Regions from separate parts of the Homo sapiens genome. Here regions 1 and 3 are each linked to region 2. The links are contacts of gene promoters, found by promoter capture Hi-C in blood cells and fetal thymus (Javierre and others, 2016). All regions are on one chromosome and are shown on one strand. Each heading gives the region's core, a stretch centred on a gene start or on the middle of the fragment in contact. The rest is flanking DNA. Distances are from core to core; before and after follow the strand shown. Region 1 holds the start of BMAL1 (basic helix-loop-helix ARNT like 1). Region 2 holds the start of CYP2R1 (cytochrome P450 family 2 subfamily R member 1). Region 3 overlaps FAR1 (fatty acyl-CoA reductase 1).

Region 1 (2,700 bases), core at 1-2,500, 1.6 Mb before region 2:
CCAGTCTGGGTAACAGAATTAGGCCAATTTATTTAATTCCATTTGTTCATGTATCCAGCCAACAGATATTTATGGTGCACTTGTTGGGTGCCAGCCCCGCCCCCACCACTCCACCCTACCCCAGCAGGCGCTAAAGGAGAGCTGACATGATGGATAACGAAAAAGAAGACGCTGTCCTTCTATTCAGGGAGTTTAACATCTGGAAGAGCCGGGAGTTCTTTGTGCTAAAGGCCCTCTACAAAGTGCCTGAGATGCAAAAATAAGTCACTTTCTCTGTCCTCTCAGCAACCGAGTCGCATGTCGTTATCAAATTTTTATTTTCTGTAACTGTTTCCTTCCGTCTTGCTCCGTAGACAGCTTTTTGCAGCAGAGAGCGCTGCCGCGGGGCTGGTGTCTACTCTTCAGTAAGTGGTCAAAACCTGGCTACTGGAAGGAAATGCAATGGAATCGCTCCGCGCTCGAGTATTCTCTTTGGAACTACGGGAATGACAGCTCCAGTGGGACACTTGGAGGTCATGATGAACGCAAAGAACGTGAGAACACTTGCAGTCCTCGGGGTGGAAATGCCTTCTAGAAATACTAAGTATCCGTTCTCTCGTTGAGACTTTGGCAAACCAGGGATTTTAGGAAGGGTCTGGCACTCAACGTTCCTAAAATTGGTTTCCTAGATGGAGCCGGAGGGAGAGAGGGAGTCAGGAACTGCTGCTTTTCGTCGGAATGCCCGGAGGGGAGAAGAAGAAGGAGGAGGGGTGAGGGCGGGCGGCCAAACGCCAGCCGGCAGGGGACCCAGAGAAGAGGGACATCCCGGGCGACCCCGAGGAGCGCGGCTTGGGCACCGCAGTGGCCGCGGCTAGTGGGAGACCTGAGGGGAAAGGGAGAGGGCAGGGGCGAGGAACCCAGGGAGCGCGCGCGGATTGGTCCTCTCCTCGGGGCGTGCGCTCCTGTGCGCCAAATGATTGGTGGCAGGAAAGTAGCAGGTAAACCGGCTCCCGCCGCCTCGCCATTGGTCAGCGGCCTCTCTAGCCGCCACACAACTGGCCAGCGGGCTGCCGAGCCGCGCGCGGATTGGCTGGGGGCGGCCGCCGGGACCGGCTCCCTTCGGGCGTTCGGATTGGCTGGCGGGAAGAGGCAGGTATCCGGGCGCTGCGGCTCCTCCATTGGTGGGCGGGGAAGGGGGGTTGGGCACAGCGATTGGTGGGCGGGGGGCCGGGCCTGGGCCGGCGGGGAGCGGATTGGTCGGAAAGTAGGTTAGTGGTGCGACATTTAGGGAAGGCAGAAAGTAGGTCAGGGACGGAGGTGCCTGTTTACCCGCGCCGGACTCACCGCCGCCGCCGCCGCGGGATCCGAGTGCGGGCGCGGGCGCGGGCGCTCCCGGCGAGCCACGGTGAGTGTCAGGCCGGCGGCGGCCAGCGACGCGATCCCGCGCACCCCGTCGGGGGCCGTTAGCACCCTCGCGGGCGCTGCGCCCCTGCCGCCGCCCCGGGGGCAACCCGGCCGCCGAAGAACCCTGCCCGACGTGCCCGCTGCCGGCCTTAAAGGGCCCGTGACCGCTCCCTGCCCCCACCCGGGCCGTGGGGAGGCTGCGCCCCTTAAAGGCGCCGCGCCCGTCCGCCCCCATCCTCCTCGCGGGGGCTGCCGCTGCGGGCTAGGGCAGGCAGAGGTGCTGCAGGAGCCCTTAAAGGGGCCGGGAAAGTGTTCGCTGGAGTACCCACCGCCCTTCCGCGGGCATCGCTACCTGGCGGGGGGAGGGGGCAGCTAGCTGCCTCTTAAAGGGATAGCTCTGCCCTTGGGGGCAGTGACTCGGCCGAAGAGGACTCCTAGATGTGTCCCCGGGAGCTTCGGGGATCCCCGAGGGGACCATGCCTGGTGGCTGCCCCTCAAGGGCGTTGGGCGAACGGTGCCGCGTCTGCCCTTCCTCCCCGCTTCACTTCCCTTTCGGGAGCCCGCGAGGCTGGGTGGGGGCGGGGAGGGCGTCTCCGTCGGGCTTGGGGAGTCCAAGTCCGCCCGCCCCTTCGGCCCTGTAGCCAGGGCTGGCGCTGCACCCGGGAATCCCCGGCCGGCACGGGGCCGACCCCAGCCTGCGAACTTTCGTGGGGCCTGTGCCGTCCAGGTCCTGGGCGGCCCTCAAGGATGCCCCGTGGGTCTGCGGGCAGGTGCGCGTCGGCCTGGGGATGTCGCCCGGAGCCCGGGTGCGGGCCGGCCTTGGAGTCCCAGAGCTCCGCGGAGGGCGCAGCGAGCCTGGCTCCAGCTCCGGGTTTGACAGATGTCAGGGAAGAAAAGGTTCCCGCTCGGCTATTGCCGGGCGTTGACATCCCAGAGAGCTTCCCGTTTGCTTGGAAGAAGACGAGGAAGGTAGAGGTGAACGTCGACCTTGTGGGGCGCATGTTAGCCTCCCCGAGGGGTCGCGAGAGCCGGCAGCGGGGTGAGCTCAGGTGCCCGCCGGCAGGAGCTGGGGAGGGAAGGGGAGTGCTGGACACCGGCGCCTGCTGTCAAGTTCTCGCCGGCCGGTGAGAGACCCGCTGCCGCCGCGCACCCCGCACCTCCTGACCCCTCTCCCCTCTCCGCCTCGGCCCCTTCCCGGTCACCTAGCGTTGTTTTGGCGCTTTGGCGCTTGCGGTCTCTTCCTTCTTCCACCGCTACTCCTCAGCGAGGAATTATTAGCCAAGTTTTCTCACCCAGCTTCCAAAAATCAGATTCCGT
Region 2 (2,700 bases), core at 61-2,560:
ACATCCCTGTACTTTTCCTTCAAAACACTGACCACAGCCTGTGGCCGATAATGAGATTAGTTTTCTCTCTCCCACTCATCTGCCAACTCCTTAAAAGGCTGTATCTGCCTTCTTCACCGCTAGCGTCAGGCCTGTAGTTGCATATAAATAAGTGTAATTCAAAACAAAACAGGTGAGCTCTGTCCCAGGACCCGTGGAAACTCCTGCCCCCTCCGGACGTCGGGACACCCACACACAAGCGGTGGTCGCCTTTTCCGCTGCCAGTCACAGGGCATTTCCGTGCTGCTTTCCCCTCCGCAGAATGAGGAGGAGCGAAGTACCGACCTCACCGGCTGGTTATGAGTTTTAAATGAGTCACCAAGTTGGCAGTGACAGTGGCACACAGAAGGCGCCTTTTAAGTATCTGCTAAGGTGCCGTTCCCAGCCAGTCAGAACGGCATTACCATCTGCGCTGTAGGACCCCCGCAGCGGATTTTAGTCATCAATTCATTCACGCGTTCACAATCGTTTCCCAGGGCCCGCTTCTCAGTCAGGGGCGTTCCCCTGCATTCTCCATTCTCACAGCAAACGCCTACACCAGTCGTTCGTCGACTGCAGACACCGAAGAACCTGCTATTAACCATCTAGAACTCAGAACGCCTTGATTTTCCGACAAGCCGCGTGCAGCTTCCACAGAGCTGCGAGGCCGACTCGCAAGACGCCCGCACCTGAGGGCATGCGTCCACCCTGGACCTGAAGTGGCGGCGCGGCTGGCGAGCCAAACGGCGCAGGCGCAGGAGCAAGAGCTCGAGCGGTAGCGGGAAAATCAGGACTGGATCGCCTCGGAGCCTCGGCCCGGAGTGGGTCACCGGCAGGGGCGGGGCTCCCCCTGCAAGGGGGCACGGCGTCGAGGACTTCTCCCTTCCAGACCCGGGAAGCGGGTGTCCCTCAAAGGGCAGCCGGCACACGGAGAGGTCCCGACTAGTCGGCCCAGGGGCGGCCATAAGTCCAACCAGGAAGGCCCTGGCCAGCCCGGGCCAGCCTGGCGGCCCTCCCTGCCCGGGGCCCGTCGGGGCTGTACCTCTCCGTACACCTGGCTCTGCTTTCTCATGTAGACATGGGGAAGCTCGGATGAGGCTGCCAGGGAATAGATGTTGCCGATAAATGGCAGCCCCGGCGGCCCCGGGGGGAAGCCCATCGGCCGCCTCTGCTTCAGCAGCTGGCGGACCCCTAGCGCGAAGAGCAGCAGGAAGAGCGCGCCGCCGAGCGCCGCCGCGCCCTCTTCAGCTCTCCAAAGCTTCCACATCGGCCCGAGCTGGAGGTGCGAACTCCACAGCAGCCCTGAGACCCAGGCACTCCCTCCAGCCCTGCCATACTCCCATTGGCAGGATACCCTCAGGTCCCGCCCTAGCTCCGTGGCCATTGGCTGACTGAGTGAGCGCTCAGGCCCCTTCGGGACAACTACCTTCTAGTTTTGCGCGGCTGAGAGTGGACTTTGCGGAGCGGGTGGCCGGTGCTACCCTTTGGAGGTGGCGCGGCTCTAGGCGGAGCAATGAGCCAGGAGTCCGTTTTCTAGAATGTTGACACAAGGGCATTGACGAGGTGTCAGGACGGCCTCACTCACTGGGCTAGGCGGATCCTGCCTCTCTGGGGCCAGACCTTTCTTAAAGTGTCTTTTTAAGTACCAGGTCTGCTTATTTCATTTCACACTAGGAAAACTGGAGAGATGATCAACACTGCAGTCTTTAGCTGAACCTGATACTTTTCAGAATTTCCAGTAGAAAATTGACCCATCAGTAGTAAAAGAAAGTAATTTTACTGTTTTGTCCTGTTTTACTATTTTTCTCCTGTTAATGTATTTTTGTGTGTGATCTTTTAATAATTGTGATGATTGAGCAGTTTATGTGATTAACTCAGTTTACCTATATTTGACCCCTCTCTGGTCTTTCCAAACTGATTACTTATTGGCAATCACGGGACTCTTGTCTGCACTTGTTCACGGAGAGTATTTACTATTCAAGATTTCTGCCTCCACTGCCTGGAATTAAGCAACTGATTTCATATTATTCTTGCTAATTGTTTTTATTCCTGTTTTCTATTGGGCAGTTCCTTGCAATACAGGACTTACTGGGTTTGGGACTCTTCTAACAGCTGCCCTCTAATTGTGATTTAGCAGTGGCATGAGTTTTATGGTCCTCATTAGCTTACGACTCATTCACACAACAAATATTTATTGAATGTCTACTATGTTCCCATGTCCTAAGCAATGGAGATACATAGGTGAATAAGAGCAACAAAGTCCTTTCTATAACTTACATTCTTATGAGAGGGAAGAGCAATGACATGGAAATACAATAATTTTCAATAATCAGAAGCAAACAAAAAGTGCGTTATAGAAAACGCCTGGTGGTTGGGGAGATACTTTAGCAGGCAAGGGCTGTCAAGGAAAGTCTTATTAGGAAGATGACATTGGAGCTGAGATCAACTGCTAAAGAAGTGTATTTGTTTCCTACTACTGTTGTAATAAATTACCACCAATCTGATGGCTTAAAACCACACAAATTTATTTTCTTACAATTCTTGAGGTGAGAAGTCCAAAATGAGTCTTCCAGGGCTGACAGAGAGGTGTTAGTGGGGCTTCATTCTTTCTAGAGACTGTAGGAGAGATTCTATTTCCTTGTCTTTTTCAGCTTCTAGAGGCTGCCCACATTCCTTGGCTTT
Region 3 (2,700 bases), core at 189-2,688, 1.2 Mb before region 2:
ACTTCAAGAGATCCATCCGCCTCGGCCTCCCAAAGTGCTGGGATTACAGGCGTTAGCTGCCGCGCCGGCCAAAATTATTCCATAAATTTATCCATAAAAATTCCACATAAATTTTCTGGAGTTTGATTATGTATTAGGCTTGTTGGGAAATTTATTACCCTTGTGAAGAATTTTGTAGCTAAGTAGCTTGAGGGTTTTTTTTTTTTTTTCACTCAGGAAAGACATGGTATGTATGCATCACTGCTATTCTATTTGAAGCTTTTGGAATTTTTATTTATGGGGTGTGGATAGAGGCTGGAGGCAGAGACTGAGGTCAGAGAAGAGGTAGTAGAAAAGAAGGTGGCCCACTACCATATTTCCAGTGTATTTAAATGGGAGATAGAGTTTCTGTTTGAGGATAGGACAAAAGGTTTGTGAAGAGTTATAGAGTCAAGGACAGAAGCCAAAGAGAGCATTTGCTGTGTAACATGTTTGCTTGTTAACCAGATCAGCAAAGCATTTTAACTAATGGACCATTATTTATGATCTAGAAACAATTTTGTGAAAGCGATTTCTTAGTGATGCTGTTTACTGTGATCACATTTGCCCTTAGTATAACAATACCTAAGTGCTGAGGCGACTTGCAGTAGAGAAGTAATCTGAGTGGCGTGGAGTGAATCAGGGAAGGTTTCCTGAAAGAGGTGAGTTTTGAGCCATCATGTGAACTAGAAGTTGGGATGTGGGTTATTACAAGACATGAGGATGACATTCCAGTAGTTTGTACTTGGTATAAGCAACTGTGGACAAGAGTGACAAATTAAAAATGGTTTTTAAGGATGATTGAAGATTCGAATGAAGATTTAGGGGTTTGGAAATCAACCAAGGCTATGTTGCAGCTTAGCTGATAAATAATTTTTTATGTTGGTTAGGAGAGAAAATTAACAGTTGATAATGGATTGGAGATAGGTAGTAAAGGAAAGAGCATAAAATATTTGATAGTTATAGGAGAATGAAGTGAAAGTAAGGTTATTGAGAGGTAGGTTTAACAGTCAACCATATATCATAAGTTGGAAACATTTTTGAGTCCTGTGCTAGAGTATATTGATAATAATAGCAAAATTTATTGGGTGCTACTTTGTGGCAGACACTGTTTTGAACCTTCCAAATATTATCTCATCTTCTGATTATCTGTATTTTATAGATGAGGGAGATAAGACTCAGAGAGATATAACTTGCCCAAGGTCACACAGCTAGGAGGGGACAGGTCAGGATTGGCAGAATCAGTCAGTAAATGTTAATTGAGCATCTGCTTGATGCCAGGCACTGTAGTAAGTGCTGGGTGTTCAATATTGACAAGAAAATTCAAGTCAGACCTCATCTATTTTCTAGAGATTGTCAGTTTATGTAAGAAGAGCCAGTGAAGAAAGAAAAAGATTAGTTGGAGAGATTTCTGTAGATACTGAGGAATACACTGTTTAGAGAAACCTGGGATAGAGTTTTAAAGAGGTGGTGGTTAGCAACAAAGTATATAGCTGAGAGACTCAGAACGATTGAGAAGAAACCATTGAGTTAAGTAAGTAAAAAAGTAATGTGAATTTAGTCACAAGAAAGCTGGAATGAAGATATTAATGTTTGGGCTGGTAGTTAATTGTGTTTAGTGGCAGGTACTCTATACAAATTTAAATATTTTCACAGTTATGGTCAGATTCATAGGAAAGATGATGGTATGACCCCTTGTAATGTTTTAATCTTTGGCTGGAAGATCATGGATGCTTTAAAATGCTTGCACTTTTTAGTTTTTTCAAATTTAAAAAAATGAGCAGGCAGACCGCCTGAGCTCAAGAGTTCAAGAGCAGCCTGGGCAACATGGCAAAACCCCTTTTCTATCCAAAAAAAAAAAAAAAATTAGTTGGGCAAGGTGGTGTGCACACCTGTAATCCCAGCTACTTGGGGGGCTGAGATGGGAGCCTGGGAGGTTGAGGCTGCAGTGAACCTTGATCATGCCGCTGTACTCCAGCCTAAGTGACAAAGTGAGACCCTGTCTCAAAAAAAAAAAAAAAAGTGAGCATTATTTTTATAATTAGTGGGGACAAGCATTCAACTGAAATGAGCTAATACTCAGGAAAATGTGGGTAGGCTAGTCTGAACTTGGGGTAGGAGAGAAGATAGTCTTATTTCAGTCCCTACTTGGTAAGAGCCACCTTGGTAGGTGTGTTCCTATCTTGGAAATGACTGGATTGTCACTGATGGAAACTGAAACTGTATGTACTGAAAGGTGGTATTTGCTTAACCTGAAGGATCAAGTTACTAACCCACCCTGAATGGTGGAGATACAGTCTTTGTTTTCCTGAACACTTGTTTTCTTAGAGTTTAATACATGAATTTAAGGTTTAAAAAAACCCAACAAACCACTGATAGAATTGTGTCATTTTAACTGCTTCTTTTGGCTTTATATCCTTCTTCCTACACATTGGTTCTATAGTTCCTCTCATTAATGGGTTTGCAACAGGCTTAGAGTTTCAGTTCAGTAAGACAAAATGGAAGTGCTGGATTTAGATATAGCTGATCAACTTAAACACTTATAAATTCACCATTGTTTTCGGTTCCCAATTTGAAGAGTGGAGACAGAAGTCAAGAAAATAAGCTTTTCTTATTCAAAGAATGATTCCCAAACCAATAGGATTTGCCCTAGGATCAGTACAGACTTATTACAGTCTCCTA

Evidence for each region. The method cuts DNA at HindIII sites, captures the fragments that hold promoters and counts their contacts. A CHiCAGO score of 5 or more calls a contact.
Region 1: a contact is called between the fragment with the promoter of BMAL1 here and the fragment with the promoter of CYP2R1 in region 2, in 1 of 17 cell types (monocytes). The highest score is 6.7, in monocytes.
Region 3: a fragment that was not itself captured here is called in contact with the fragment with the promoter of CYP2R1 in region 2 in 1 of 17 cell types (M0 macrophages); the score reaches 5.2 in M0 macrophages.

The regions. Positions count from the first base shown.
Region 1 is chr11:13,276,540-13,279,239 of GRCh38, forward strand. It overlaps BMAL1 (basic helix-loop-helix ARNT like 1), which reads left to right and starts at 1,251. Exons shown (of 20, transcript NM_001297719.2): 1 at 1,251-1,384. RefSeq lists silencers at 852-1,501, 1,572-1,641, 1,922-2,261. The HindIII fragment of the contact is 3,232 bases long and covers 1-2,700 here.
Region 2 is chr11:14,890,921-14,893,620 of GRCh38, forward strand. CYP2R1 (cytochrome P450 family 2 subfamily R member 1) reads right to left here and starts at 1,311. Exons shown (of 5, transcript NM_024514.5): 1 at 1,061-1,311. The coding sequence starts at 1,285. It also overlaps a transcript of PDE3B not described here. RefSeq lists a silencer at 819-1,058. The HindIII fragment of the contact is 6,013 bases long and covers 1,275-2,700 here.
Region 3 is chr11:13,670,521-13,673,220 of GRCh38, forward strand. The region is part of intron 1 of FAR1 (fatty acyl-CoA reductase 1); the gene reads left to right. Among named protein-coding and RNA genes, the nearest start is that of FAR1, 3.2 kb to the left of the region's middle. The HindIII fragment of the contact is 2,365 bases long and covers 257-2,621 here.